Regions from separate parts of the Homo sapiens genome. Here region 2 is linked to region 1. The links are contacts of gene promoters, found by promoter capture Hi-C in blood cells and fetal thymus (Javierre and others, 2016). All regions are on one chromosome and are shown on one strand. The core of a region is centred on a gene start or on the middle of the fragment in contact, and the rest is flanking DNA. Distances in the headings are between cores, read along the strand shown.

Region 1 (6,898 bases), core at 1,627-4,126:
ATGCAAAGGCGTCTTGAACAGCCAACACGCCCACCCAAAGCTGGGAGAGACTGGGCTGCAAACAAGCCTCAGTCTCACCCCTGTCTTGGAGAAGCTCCCATCCTGGAGGGGAAGAAAGAATCTGGGATCAAGGGAAAGCCAGGTGCAGGGCACAAAATTCAGGGTGTTGGGAAGGTGTGTGCGTGGTGGGACAGCTGACTGCTGTTCATCTCCCTGGCTTCTCCCATGGCTGTGCCAGGAAAGTTACTACTCTCATGGCCTCGGCTGTCACGATCACCCCCATTTTACAGAGAGGGAAGTGGGGCCTTAGCAGGGGACGTGTCCCAGGTCTCCTGCTGGGCAGCGTTGGTACTGGGCTCAGTCCATTTGGCCTCACCCAGCCACTCTCGACACTGCCCCCTCCACACTGTAGGGGCAGGATGTCCTCTGCTCAGGCTTCACGCAGCACCCCGGGAGGGCCGTGAGCCCCTCTGCCCACGTGGGGATCCCTGGGGCAGATGTGTGAGCTGCTTAGGGAGAGATCTGCCCACATCCCTGCCTCTTTGTGTCCCAGCCCCTCCTGGAGGGAGGCTGGTGCCCAGTGGCGTGGCAGAGGGGATTTGCTTTGAGGGGCCCTTAATGGCTGCTCATGGGTTGCAATTACAATTAAGAATTGAACTCTGACCCTGCACGTGGGTTGGGAGGGTGGGACGTGGAGCCCAAGGGAGTGGCCCAGGGAGTCAGGCTTGCGTCTCTGCTGGGTGACCTTGGGCAAGACGCTTGCCCTCTTTGTGAAATGGGTCTGATAATGGCTCTGGGAGTGGGGATAGGGAGGGGCGGAGACCTGGCCTGACTCACAGTAGTCATCTTGGGTGTCGAGCCCCTGGGCAGGGGCCCTGTGTGTGTGTGTGTGGGAAGGGGGGGGTGGTGTTCCAGGCGTGAGGATGCCCTGGGCACAGCCACTTGTCCCAGGAGCTGTCAGAATCTTAGACCCAGAGGAGCCCTGAGGTGTTCCCGTCCATTCCCTTGCCCCTTTCTAGGCCACCAGAGTAAGGCCTCGAGGGAGGGATGTCTCAGGCCCCATTCCTCTTGGGACAGCTGAGTGGTCTCTGAGGGTGGGAGCTGGTTTGAGGCTTCTTCCGCAGCTGGCTTGGGCTTCCCCATCTGGGAAATGGAGCAGGGGCAGGTGGGGAGCTGAGTCATTTCCCTCCTTGGTCACTCGGAGGGAGAAGAAGGAAGTTTCCTGAGAGCTTTTGGTCCCCTGGGAGGCTGTTTCTCCCAGGAGGAGGAGGAAACCAGGACACAGTGTGCCAGGCAGGGCAGGGTGGGGGCTGCAGACTTCTGCGATGCCCCTTCTTTCTCCACTGCAGCCCTAAGTTGAGGACACACCTGATTCTGCGTACTGGCTCCACCATCTGGTAGTTCTGTAATTAAGCAAGTGACCACCCCTCTGTGCCTCAGTTCCTTCATCTGTAAAATGGAGCCAATGAGCTTATCCACCACAGATGGCCGCAGTGGTAATGAAATAATTCTAGCTGGGTCCATAGCACAGAGCTCAGAACATATTGAGTGCTCCGCCTGGCTGTTTTACCAGCCAAGTCAAGTGCTAAGCACTTTAGGTAGACTCATCTCATTTAATCCTTGCTACAGCCCCATGAGTGTAGTGATTTCTACTGACAACAGGGAAACAGAGGCACTGAGTGGTGAAGTGACCTGTCCCACAGCTAGTCAGTTGAGGTGGGATTCAAACCCAGGGCAGACTGATGTCGGTGAGTGCTGGGCTGGATTTCACCCACCAGCTGCCTGGGGCCAGGATCCTAGGGCTGGTGGGGCCTGCAGATCACTCTGCTCTGAGCCGCCAGCAATCTGGGTGCGGGCCAGAGAGCCGTCCTCCTCGGTTAGAATCCTGCAGCCAGTCTCCCTGCTGTGCAGACACATAATTATATTTCACATTAAAGGGGAAGCTGGAGGCCAAGGGGGCCAAGGAGCCCTTTGAGGCTCATGCTCTGGGCACAGACTGGCCTCCTCGGCCCAATTCTGAGGCCCTAGGGCCGAGCTGGGGGTCAGACTGGTGACAAAATGGAGTTCCCCTGGGTCAGTGTCCAGGCGAGCAGGTCTGTCTGCCAGGATGAAAGACTTGGCCCCTGCGGGAGGCTCAGAGATATGAGGCCCAGACAATAGGCCTCAGAAAGCTGGGAGGGCAGGGCATTTGGGGACAGGTTGGGAAGAAAGCCTGAGCCTCCAGAGACAGGGGCTCGAAAGAGAAGGGGGTCACATGGGGATCCGGTCGGCAGAGAGAGGTCCAGGGAGGAGCACAGAGAAGGCAGGAGATGGGAGAAGCCAAGCAGCTCAAGATGGAGAGGAGAAAAATGCTATTAGGGTGGGATGGTGTGTGTAGAGGGTGCGTGCCTGGTGTGCAGGGGAAAAGGGCTCTGTGGGAATGCACAAGCTTAGACCTGTGTGTGCGTATGCACACGTGCAGATGCCATCCTGCATGTGCACATATGAGCGAGTGTGCACATGTGCCCCTGCGAACATCATGCATGTGGGGGCATGTATCCTGCATGTTTATGCCTGTGTGTGTGCTCGCCATGCACCTGTGCGTGCGCGCGTGTCCCCGGCGGACGTGCCTGCATGTGTGTGTATGTGTGTGTGCGCGCATGTCCCCGGGAAGTCGTGCCTGTGTGTGTGTGTGTGTGTGTGTGTGTGTGTGTGTATATATATATGTGTGTGTGCGCGCGCGCGTCCCAGTGCGCAAGTGGCTGGCGGTGTGTGTGTAGGGGGCGGCCCGGGACTAGGAGGGGCTCGGGGCCAGGCCGGAGCCGTGGTAGGCTGGTGCAGCGGCTGCGCGGCGCGGCGCGGCGCGGGGCGGGCGTGCTCTCCGCGGAGAGTTAGAGGAGTTGCCGAGCTGAGCTCCGGTGGAGCGAGGCGCGGAGCTGGGTGCGCGCCGAGCCTCTGCCTCCCGCCGCCTCCTCGCCCTCCATTCCTCGCTCCCCGTCTTCTCCCGGCCACACCGCCACTGCTGCCGCCTCCCTGGGAACAGTAGCCGGGGGAGGGGGACTGGCGCGGTCAGAGCCTGCGAGGAGGTGCGGGGCGCCGGGGCGTAGGGGAGCGCGCCGGGCCCTGCCCGAGATCAGATAACAGCCGGCGGGGGAGGGGGTGGGCCGGCCGTGCTCACAGCCGGACCGAGGGACCGACGCCAGCCGCCCCGGCCCAAGCGAGCGCCCAGCGGCCGGGGGCGCCGTCCAGGCGCGCGCCCCCGACCCGTGGCTGGACCAGGGCGATCCGCTTTGCAGAGAAGACGCGCCCCTCGGCATGGAGCGCCCCCGGGAGCTGCCCTGAGGCGGTGGCGGCAGCGGCGGCGATGCAGCCAGCGCGGCAGCTGCCGGGGCCAGGAACGGCCGCCCGGAGCTTGGAGGACGCCGAGCGCGCCGCGCCCGGGCCACTGACCGAGGTAAGTGCGCGGCCGCGGGCGCATGGTCCCTCCCGGGCCCGGCCCCAGTTCCCCGCAGGCCGCGCCTCGCCACTAGCCCGGCCCGGAGCTAGCACGAGGTTGTGCAGCAACAGGGAAGGTGGAGCGGGAGGGTGTTTTCTTCCTCTCGTTTTATTTTTTTCCCTCCCTTGGTGAGACATCGGAGGAAATGCTGACTGCGAGCTTTTCTTTTCCTGCCATGTCTCCGGCTACCACCACAAGGAACTTTGCTCCTGGCTAACCTTCGTCCTGGGGGGCGCTCCGGGAAACTTTGAGGAGCCCTCGGCCCCCCTCTGACTGGTTTGCACTAGGGGGCTCGGGAGGGAGCGTGCGGAAGCACTCTGGCGCGCGGCACGGGTCCTACGCGTGACCTTCCCGGAGACCCCGCGATCGAGGTGGGGTTCGGAGGTGGGCGCCCGGGCTATATGAGCCGCCCCGAGAATGCCTCCCGTCAGAGACCTGCGGGTTCTTGGAGTCGTGTCTCTTTCTCACCTCCCGTGCTGTAATGGAGTAAAAATATTCTGGAAATGATTCCATGCCAGCAAGTCAGCCAAGTCCAGAGGCTCCCTTTTGCTTTTAGAAGTCGGCCTTGATCTCCGAGGGGATGGCCGCTGGCTGAGAAGCTCCCAGGGTTTCAGGGCCAGGGTCCACCCTGCGCGCGCACGGCCTCTCCGGGTGCCCTGGGGGAGCGGGGCGGGAATCAGGGGCTCATGGGCAGAGACAGCTGGGGTGGGGCGCTCCTTGGGGGGTTCAGATGGGAGTTGAGGCCCAAGCGAGTGTCTGTGCCTCGGTTTTGATCCAGCGTGCCCATGTCATGTGAATATTTTAAAACCTGTGATCAGAATGGGGGTCAAAGTGTTTCTTTGGGGACGGTCTTGTTCTGGGAGGTTTTCCTGCCTCCTCACAGCCTGGACTCGCCCGCACCTGGGACCTCCCCCTCCCCATTTCCCAGGGGGCGTTCCCATCTTAGAGTACCGCGCTGCCTGTGGCCATTTCTAGTTTCTTTTTTGCTCCCCTATACCCAGGTTCGAGCCCTGCAATAAAGCGCTGGGGACCTCCTGGCTCCCACATCTGCGCCCCAAACCCAGGTTCACAGGCTCCGTCTCCGAGAGCGCCGAGGCGCCCACACGCCACTGAAATCGGCAGCCGCCTTTGGAAGGTGCGAACCCGGAAGGCGTTAGCCTTGGGCCTAGCCTTCGCCCCCTCTGAGATGCCAAAGGAGAGCCGGTCCCTGGCCGCGCGGCTGGACCCCAGCCTCCCTCGCGCTGCGCTGCACCTCCGCGGCCCCTCCTCGCGCAGCTCCGCCCTGGACCGCCGCCCTGTGGCGGGCGAGGGTCAGAGAGGGGAGGTCCATCTCAGCCCTGGGCGCCACCAGAGGCTTTCGCTCTTTTTGAGGGGTACTCCCTTCTGTATTCTGAGAAGAGCCCCTCAGTGTCTGCTGGGACCGCCCCCCCCAACAAAAGACTTCACAGCGAAGTCTGCCCCTCAGTTCTCTGGTGGCACCTCCAACCAGACAGGGGACCCGAGGTTGGCAGCTCTAGGAGGGGGACCCTGGGGGCCTGCCATTTGGTGGGGCCAAGCCGCCTGAGAGAGAGCAGGGAGTGAGGGCGGAGGGCACTCACTCGAGCACCCTGGAGACGAGGAGGGTGGCTCCAGTGTGCTGGGCCACAGGGACACCCCTCTTCTCCACTGGAGGGCCGCTGTAGGCATACAGTAGGCAGTCTGTAAATGCTGGCTGTTGACCCAGAGCTGGCAGGTAGGGGCTCCAAGTCCTCTATCACCTCCTTTTTCCCCTCCCAGGGGAGGGCATGGCTGACACCCCTCATCCCCAGCACTGAAGGGGGTGGAGCCTTCTCTGGGAGGGGCAGGACCTGAGCTGTCAGTCCATCTCTGGACACTCCCCCTGCAGCTACCCCGTCAAAACCCCATAAGGTTTCCAGGCTGCCCCGGAGGGGACCCCTCCAGGAATGTGCCTCAACTGTGCTGGAAGGAAGAGGTGCCTGGGAAGTGGTGGAGGGGTATTGCCTAAAACCATGCAGTGGGTTGGGTTTGGACAGATGCCTTCACCTAGCTCTTTCCAGGCCAGGCGCTTACCCCACCAGCCTTCCTGCCCCAGGGCCATGGTGTCCCCATCCCTGGGTCTCCTTGAAGCAGGACAAAGTAACACTGAGTGGCCCTGCAACAGCAAAATAATAATGACAGCAGTGATAACAGGAGTAACAGCAGCAGCAGCACCTGCAGCTCTGCAGCACTGGGGCCGGTTCTGCCTATGGGCAGTTTTCTCTGCCTAGCCAGGCCTCCGGTACCCTGGGCCACAGTTGGCAGTACCAAGCGTGGCACCCGGAGGCCTTGGCATATGGCTGGGGCGGAAGTGAGTGCATCATTACTGTCATCAACCTCTGTGGCCCTCGCCAGGTCCCCAGGCAGAAGGCTACTGGTACACACGGTGCCCACCCAGTGGCCACCCTCACCCCCCCTGCTCCCAGGCCCAGCTCTGGGCTGGGCCCTTCCTCCAACAGGTGCAGCTGGTGCCTGTGGCTGGGCCCTGGCCAGGGCTTTACTGTGAGCGACACATGGGTACACCTGCCCCTCCCCGGGCCTGCCCTTGGAGCCCTGCCACCGGCTAGCGTGGAGGAGAGTCAGGGAGGGGGCAGCTTGCGGGCAGCAGGAGGGGTGGAGGCTTGGCTGGCCACATGGAAGGTGCGGTGGGTGGGGGCTCAGCCCCACGGGATGGCTGTGCCGGGAACTGGCAGCGTGATGGGGACACGGCAGCAGGGAAAGGCTGAAGATGAAAGAGAGCTGGCCTGAAACTGGGCCGTGTGCAGGTTGGCCAGAGCTTCAGAGGCACCATGGGGTTGGGGGTGGGGGGGGGCCTGGCAGAGGCAGGTGGGTTTTCTGAGGTGCTGGGCTCGGGGCAGGACCAGAGCCCCCGCTGGGCACTGGCCAAGGACCCAGCCCTGGGTCAGCTGACTTAATTTCCTAATGGCCTGCCAGTGCAGAGGGTGGCATTAGCTCTATTGTGCAGACAGGGATTGGAGGCCCAGGGAGGCACTGGAGGCACCAGCCTGTGGGGCTCAGACCCAGAGCCCTGGTGCTTTCCCAGGGACAGAACTGCACCTTCCCCCATTCCACAGACACACCCCTCAGGGGCATTTGACTGCCAGGCTAGCTTTCTCCCTGCCTTACCACCAGGCAGGTCCCACACAGGGCCTGAGGCCTGCATGCCATCCCAGCTCCCGGGAGCTGTATTCCTAGGACCTAGTTAAGCCCTGGCACAGAGTAGGTGCCCAGTAAATGCTCGATGATTCCATGTCTGGACTGCTTCTTCCAGCCACAGAGGCCTTGCTGTGCTGGTGAGAGCTGTGGGGGCTGAGTTCTGGGGCTGGAGACCCCAGGCCCTGTTGCCTAGCTGTGGCCCCTGTGCTGGGTAGCCATACAGAAGTGCTT
Region 2 (6,898 bases), core at 3,429-5,928, 240 kb before region 1:
GTGCGTGGCGGGGAAACCCGCCTGTCGCCGAGGTGTCTTGAGTCCAGTTTCCGCTGCTGGGAATGGGTGTCGCGCCGGGCGCTGTGTGTGAAAGGCCTCGCGCCCACAGGGCTCCTGGCTTCAACCTGTTTATTCCCACATTTCTGCGCGACGTAGGGGAGGCTCCGCAGCGTCTGCGAGTGGCAGGACCGAGGGTTGAGCGCTGGGGGCCAGTGGCACCTTAGCCAGTGACGGCGAGTTAGGACTAGCAAAGGAAGTCCGGTTTTTCAGAAGGCAGGAGGAGGGTGCTGACTCGAGCGTCCACGGGAATGGCTGGTTGAGATATCTTGCTCTTCCAATACTTACTCTGCGGCTTCCTGGCTGTGCGGCTTTGGGCAAATGTTTTAAACTCTGAGTGTTTCTTCAGCTGTAACTTTGGGAGTAACAAGCCCACTCATAAGGTTGTTGTGAAGCGTAAATGAGACTGCGCGTGCAAGGTGCTCAGCTGGTGTCTGGCACATAGTAGGTATTCAACAAATGGTAGCCACATAATGCTCTTTTTTTCAGTTTCCAAACCTTCCATGTAGTGATTGGAGAATCGTGAAGTTACTTTTGAAGTAACGTTTGGGTTTCACACACTCATACATTTAGTAAGCAGAATTCTTGCTTACACTGTTGCCGATTGCAACGGTGTGTTTGCATAATGGAAGCTATGTTTGTGCCTTTGCCAAGGGTGTGGAATATGCCTTCCCTACCATGTACATGTCCCCTTTTCTCCATTCCTTAATAATAGTTGATATTTTTTGAGTGTTTGCTATGTTACAGGCACTGTACTAATCCCTTTACTGAATTATTCAATCCTGTAATAACCCTAATCATAGGAACTATAATTTTTATTTATGGAGGGAGAAATGGGCTTAGAGATGTTAAGAAGTTTATCCAAAGGCATAGAGCTATTAGCCAGGCAAGGTAGCACACGCCTGTAGTCCCAGCTATTTGTTGGGGCTGAGGCAAGTGGATTGCTTGAACCTGGGAGACAGGCTGCAGTGAGCCGAGATCACGCCATTGCATTCAAGTCTGGGTGACAAAGTGAGACCCTGTCTTGGCTGGGCGCAGTGGCTCACACATGTAATCCCAGCACTTTAGGAGGCTGAGGCGGGCGGATCACCTGAGGTCAGGAGTTCGAGACCAGCCTGGCCAACGTGGTGAAACCCCGTCTCTACTAAAAAATACAAAAATTGGCTGGGCGCGGTGGCTCACGCCTGTATTTCCAGCACTTTGGGAGGCCAAGGCGGGCGGATCACGAGGTCAGGACCTCGAGACCATCCTGGCTAACACGGTGAAACCCCGTCTCTACTAAAAAAATTCAAAAAAATTGGCTGGGCTTGGTGGCGGGCGTCTGTAGTCCCAGCTACTAGGGAGGCTGAGGCAGGAGAATGGCGTGCTCCGGATGGCGGAGCTTGCAGTGAGCCGAGATCCCGCCGCTGCACTCCAGCCTGGGCGACATAGTGAGACTCTGTCTCAAAACAAACAAACAAACAAAAATTAGCCGGGCGTGGTGGTGGGCGCCTGTAATCCCAGCTACTCGGGAGGCTTTGGCAGGAGAATCGCTTGAACCTGGGAGGCAGAGGTTGCAGTGAGCCGAGATGCCGCCACTGCATTCCAGCCTGGGCGACAAGAGCGAGGAGACTCCGTCTTAAAAAAAAAAAAAAAAAAAAAGTGACACCCTGTCTCAAACAACAACAACAACAACAACAAACAACAACAAAGGCATAGAGCTAGTAAAGGCCGATCCAATGCCATGTCACTCCAGAACCTAGCGCTTAGCTACAAATTTCATTCATTCCTTCAGATACTTATTGAACGTTTACAGTGTACCAGCATTGTGCTGGGTGTTGTGGATACAATGATGATCAAAACAGATAAAGCCCCTGTCTTTAAATTGCTTATAAATCTAGCAAGGGAGATAGTAAATATATAAATAAAACTAAATATTAATTACGATTGTGATGCATGCTGTGGAGGACAGTAGAGGGTGCTGTGAGGATACATAATGGAGTCACCGGCATGCGGAGGGGGAAATGAGGAGAGACAGGGAAGGCTTTCCCAAGAAAATAATATTTAGCTGAGACTTAAAGGACTGAGTTGGAGTTAAATTGGACAAAGAGCTAACAGGAGGAGGGAAGGGCATGTGTGAGGTCTTGAGACTAGGAGGAGCTTGTATCTTGTTACTTAAAGACCCCTGTGAGGCTGTAGGTGGTGGCTCACACCTATAATCCGAGCGCTTTGGGAGGCTGAGGTGGGAGGATCATGTGAGGCCAGGAGTTTGAGACTAGCCTGGGCAACATAGGGAGACCCCATTTCTACAAAAAATAAAAAATTATCTAGGCGTGCTGGTGTGTACCTGTTGTCCCAGTTACTCAGAAGGCTGAGTCAGGAGGATCACTTGAGCCCAGGAGTTTGCGGCTACAGTAAACTGTGATAATACTACGGCACTCCAGCCTGGGCAGCAGAGTAAGACCCTGACTCAAAAAAAAAAAAAAAAAAAAGAAAAAGAAAAAAATAAGCATTAAACCAGACTGGAATGTATTATGGATAATATGCTAATGCAGTTTCTTTCAGAAAAGAAATCCCACCACTTATTTGTATGCAGCTGAGCAGATACAACCCATTATGTAGTCTCAAGATTAATGGTAATTTGTCCTCTTATAAGAAGACTTGACAGCACCATTTGCTGTACATGTTTTCATAGTTCATTCTAAATTCACCTGGTAATTGGGTTGGTCATCTGTGCTACCTAGTTACTTTTTTCCAAAGGAAAACATGAAACAGCTCTATGATAAAACAAGTAGTTGAGGTGCCTAGGCTAAACTTCCACAGTGATAGGGATAGGGCTGGGGCATTGTCTTCCTGGATATTTCCATTTAAAATAGGGGGTTTGGCTGAGCACGGTGGCTCACGCCTGTAATCCCAGTACTTTGGGAGGCTGAGGAGGGCAGATCACCTGAGGTCAGGAGTTCGAGACCAGCCTGGCCAACATGGCGAACCCCGTCTCTATTAAAAATACAAAAATGTGTGGTGGCGTGTGCCTGTAATCCCAGCTACTCAGGAGGCTGAGGCAGGAGAATCGCTTGAACTGGGAAGCAGAGGTTGCAATGAGTCGAGATTGTGTCACTGTACTCCAGCCTGGGCTACAGAGTGAGACTCCACCTCAAAAAATAAATAAATAAATAAATAAATAAACTTACGTATGTATGTACGTACGTTTGTAAAGGGGGGGTTCCAGGCCCTTCAGAAAAACAGTCCTGGGTTTTACTGTATTTACTGGGTTTAAACAAGCTAAGCTAGGGGTAGTTTATTTAGCCTTTAAAAAGATTTGCATACATATCAAAGGGACAGAGGAATAATTTATAAATACTGGGTTTTTCAAAGAAATGCTGTGAGGAAAAGGAAGGAGAGAAGATCTCTTTCCCTTTGGAAACAGTGAAAATTCAGTTTTAAAATTTTTACTATATGTTTGCATGACAACTAAAAAAAAAATTTACTTACAGTACAGTAAAATGTTGGACTAGAGCAACATCCATAATGTTGGATGGTGTAGGAATTATTCATTCCCACCCCATTATACACATAAGAAACCTTTCTTTGGTAGCCAATGTTATTTTAATGCAAAAATGAACTCTCTATTCTGGAAGGCCATAAGCATGAGGGTGAAAATTGGGATTGAATGGTGTGTAAATTCAGTTTGAAAGCTTCTTGCCACCCACCCAGATAGGAAATACAACAAATTCCTTAGGATTTTACCTGAGCTCTCCCTCCTATCTTCTAAAGTTCCCAGTAACATGAGGCTTGGCCATTTAAACTGCTTAGTGGAGGGAGAGGTCTGTGATGGCCACTGAATTTGCTACTGGAGAAGAGTCTTGATCCAGACCTCAAGAGAGGGTTCTTGGATCTTGTGTAAGAAATAATTTGAGGCCAATCCATAGAGAAAAGTGAAAGCAAGTTTATTAGAAAAGTAAAGAAACAAGAGAATGGCTACTCCATAGGCAAAGCAGCCCTGAGGGCTGCTGGCTGGCCACTTTTATGGTCATTTCCTGATTATATGCTAAAGAAGGGGTGGATTATTCATGAATTTTCTAGGAAAGGGGTGGGTAATTCCCGGAACTGAGAGTTCCTCCCCTTCGTAGACTATATAGGGTAACTTCTTGACATTGCCATGGCATTTGTAAACTGTTATGGTGCTGGTAGGAGTGTCTTTTAGCGAGCTAATGCCTTATAATTAGCATATAATGAGCAGTGAGGATGACCAGAGGTCACTTTCATTGCCATTTTCCATTTGGTGGGTTTTGGCCGGCTTCTTTACCTCAGCCTGCTTTATCAGCAAGGTCTTTCTGACCTGTATCTTATGTGACCTCCTATCTCATCTTGTGATTTAGAATGCCTAACCTGCGAATGCAGCCCAGTAGGTCTCAGCCTTATTTTACCCAGCCTCTATTCAAAATAGAGTTGCTCTGGTTCAGATGACTGATAAATTGATTGAATATTGCTTACCAGTGGTTTGAGCTTCCTTGCTGTACTTAGCTAGTGTTTTATTAAGTAAGGCTATGTTTGTACTAGGAACACTAATTTCTGAAGGGGATATAAATTTTTCCAGTTTATATGAGCAGCACTTAGTGGTCATTAAATTGGATACTACTACATTAAGAAACTACCATTGCAGAATTCTCTATGAGTATGGCATTATAATCCAGATTGGTTTAAAATGTTAGCTAAACTGAATCAAAGAAACTGTACTGAGTTCCTATTAAGCAGCTAACTTGTTTATGTTCAATTGTTGCTTAGAAGCCTTTGTATTCTGTTTGAGTTGTTAAAACTTCAGACAAACTAAATTCAACAGAGTTTAACTGAACAAAGAATGATTTGCAGATCAGCAGCCTCTGGAACTAGAATAGGTTCAGAGTGACTCTGGGGTAGCTACATGGTTGGATAGTATTTGTGGACAGAAACAGCAAAGTGACATACAGAAAATGGAAGTGAGGTACAGGCCAGGCCCAGTGGCTTACACCTATAATCCCAGCACTTTAGGAGGCCAAGGCAGGAGGATTGCTTGAGCCCAGGAGTTTGAGACCACCCTGGGCAACATAGGGAGACCCCATCTCTTAAAAAAAAAAAAATATATATATATATAGATAGATAGATAGATAGAGATATGCAGGTGTACCACTCATGCCTGTGGTCCTAGCTACTCAGGAGACTGAGGTGGGAGGATCGCTTGAACCTGGGAGGTTGAGGCTGCAGTGAGCTATGATCACACCACTGCACCCCAGCCTAGGTGGCAGAGGGAGACCTTGTCTCAAAAAAAAAAAAAAAAAAACAAAAAAAAAACAGGGAAGTGAGGTGTAGAAAGAGCTAGATTGGTTGCAGCCTAGTGTTTGCCTTATTTGAGCAGTTGGCTGCCTATGACTGGCTGAAACTGGGCTGCTGTGATTGGCTGAGACTGGGCTACTTGTTACAAGAGTAGGTTAAAGTTTGTTTGCACATCCAGTTAGGTTACAGGTCACTAGCTATGGAGGAACATTTAGGCTAAACTTAAAATATGTAAGGAGGCAGCTTTAGGCTAAACTTCTTATAACAAGGTGATTAGAGCTAAGCTTAGGGATCTCTTCATCTCTTAGACAGTATTAGAATCCTTCCTGTTTAAAGTTCCAGCTAAAGGATTTTTTTTTTTACATGACCCCCTATTTGATGCACTTAAGAGTTAAGAATGTGGGCTTCAGAGTCTGAGTACGTTGGTTGAAATCTCTTTTCCACCATTTGCTAGCCATGTGACTTCACGTACTTTTCTTATTTAGCAAATGAAAATAACTGTCATACCTACCTCCGGATTGCTGTGAGGATGAAATGAGATCATGGGTATGGAGAATGTGTATTTCAGTGTCTGGCACATTGCAAATACTTAAAAAAGTTAGTAATTGTTATTAATATTTTTCCTTTTCAATAGCCATGTATGGTACTGTGAACCCAGAAAATCTGAGACAGGTCTTAGTTAATTCAGAGAGTTTATTTTGCCAAGGTTGAGGATGTGCCCATGACACAGCCTCAGGAGGTCCTGATGACATGTGCCCAGGGTGGTCAGGGCACAACTTGATTTTATACATTTTAGGGAGACATGAGACATCAATCAATATATGTAAGAAGTACTTTAATTCCATCTAGAAAGGCAGGACCACTCAAAGTGGGGCCCCCCTTCAGGGGCTTCCAGGTCACAGATAGGTGAGAGACAAATGGTTGCATTCTTTTGAGTTTCTGATGAGACTTCCAAAGGAGGCAATCGGAATATGCATCTATCTCTGTGAGCAGAGGGATGACTTTGAATAGAATGGGAGGCAGGTTTGCCCTGAACAGTTCCCAGCTAGAAGGAGCCCAAGATATTTTCCTTTCACATTTCCCCACTTTTCTTTTTTAAAATCATTTGGAGAAAGCATTTTAGAAGAAAATGAATCTCTGGTCTCAAGTTTCATCTGATCTCTCATGGTTAGGATGGTTTATTCCTAGTTAGTTAGGTCCTGAAAGCTCATTCTTAGCAGGTTGTGAAGTCTCATGTCCTGTGAAGAGAAAATGGGGGGAGGAAGGGAGAAAAACAACAACAAACAAAAGAACAATCCTGGAAAAATCGATATTGGCCACATTACTCTGAAGTCCACACATTAGTAGGCAGGTATGAAAGTGGCTTATGTATGTAAATAGGTTGCTATTATTTTCTTCTGAAGTGTAAGTTGTCTGGCTTCAGTTTGCAGGGCTTTAAGAAAGCACAGCTTAGTTTTCAGTGACTCCAAATTAGGAAAAATGGAAAAAAAAAAGGAAAAAAACTGAAAACATTATTTTGAAGACTTATAGCCAAGAAAAATTAGAATTCAGT

The links. Contacts are between HindIII fragments. The CHiCAGO score rates a contact against its expected background, and 5 or more counts as called.
Region 2: a fragment that was not itself captured here is called in contact with the fragment with the promoter of KCNJ12 in region 1 in 1 of 17 cell types (M0 macrophages); the score reaches 5.4 in M0 macrophages.

What each region holds. Positions count from the first base shown.
Region 1 is chr17:21,373,481-21,380,378 of GRCh38, forward strand. KCNJ12 (potassium inwardly rectifying channel subfamily J member 12) reads left to right here and starts at 2,877. Exons shown (of 3, transcript NM_021012.5): 1 at 2,877-3,433. RefSeq lists an enhancer at 1-600. The HindIII fragment of the contact is 5,395 bases long and covers 2,427-6,898 here.
Region 2 is chr17:21,127,197-21,134,094 of GRCh38, forward strand. The region is part of intron 1 of DHRS7B (dehydrogenase/reductase 7B); the gene reads left to right. Among named protein-coding and RNA genes, the nearest start is that of DHRS7B, 3.7 kb to the left of the region's middle. RefSeq lists an enhancer at 1-89. The HindIII fragment of the contact is 1,899 bases long and covers 3,730-5,628 here.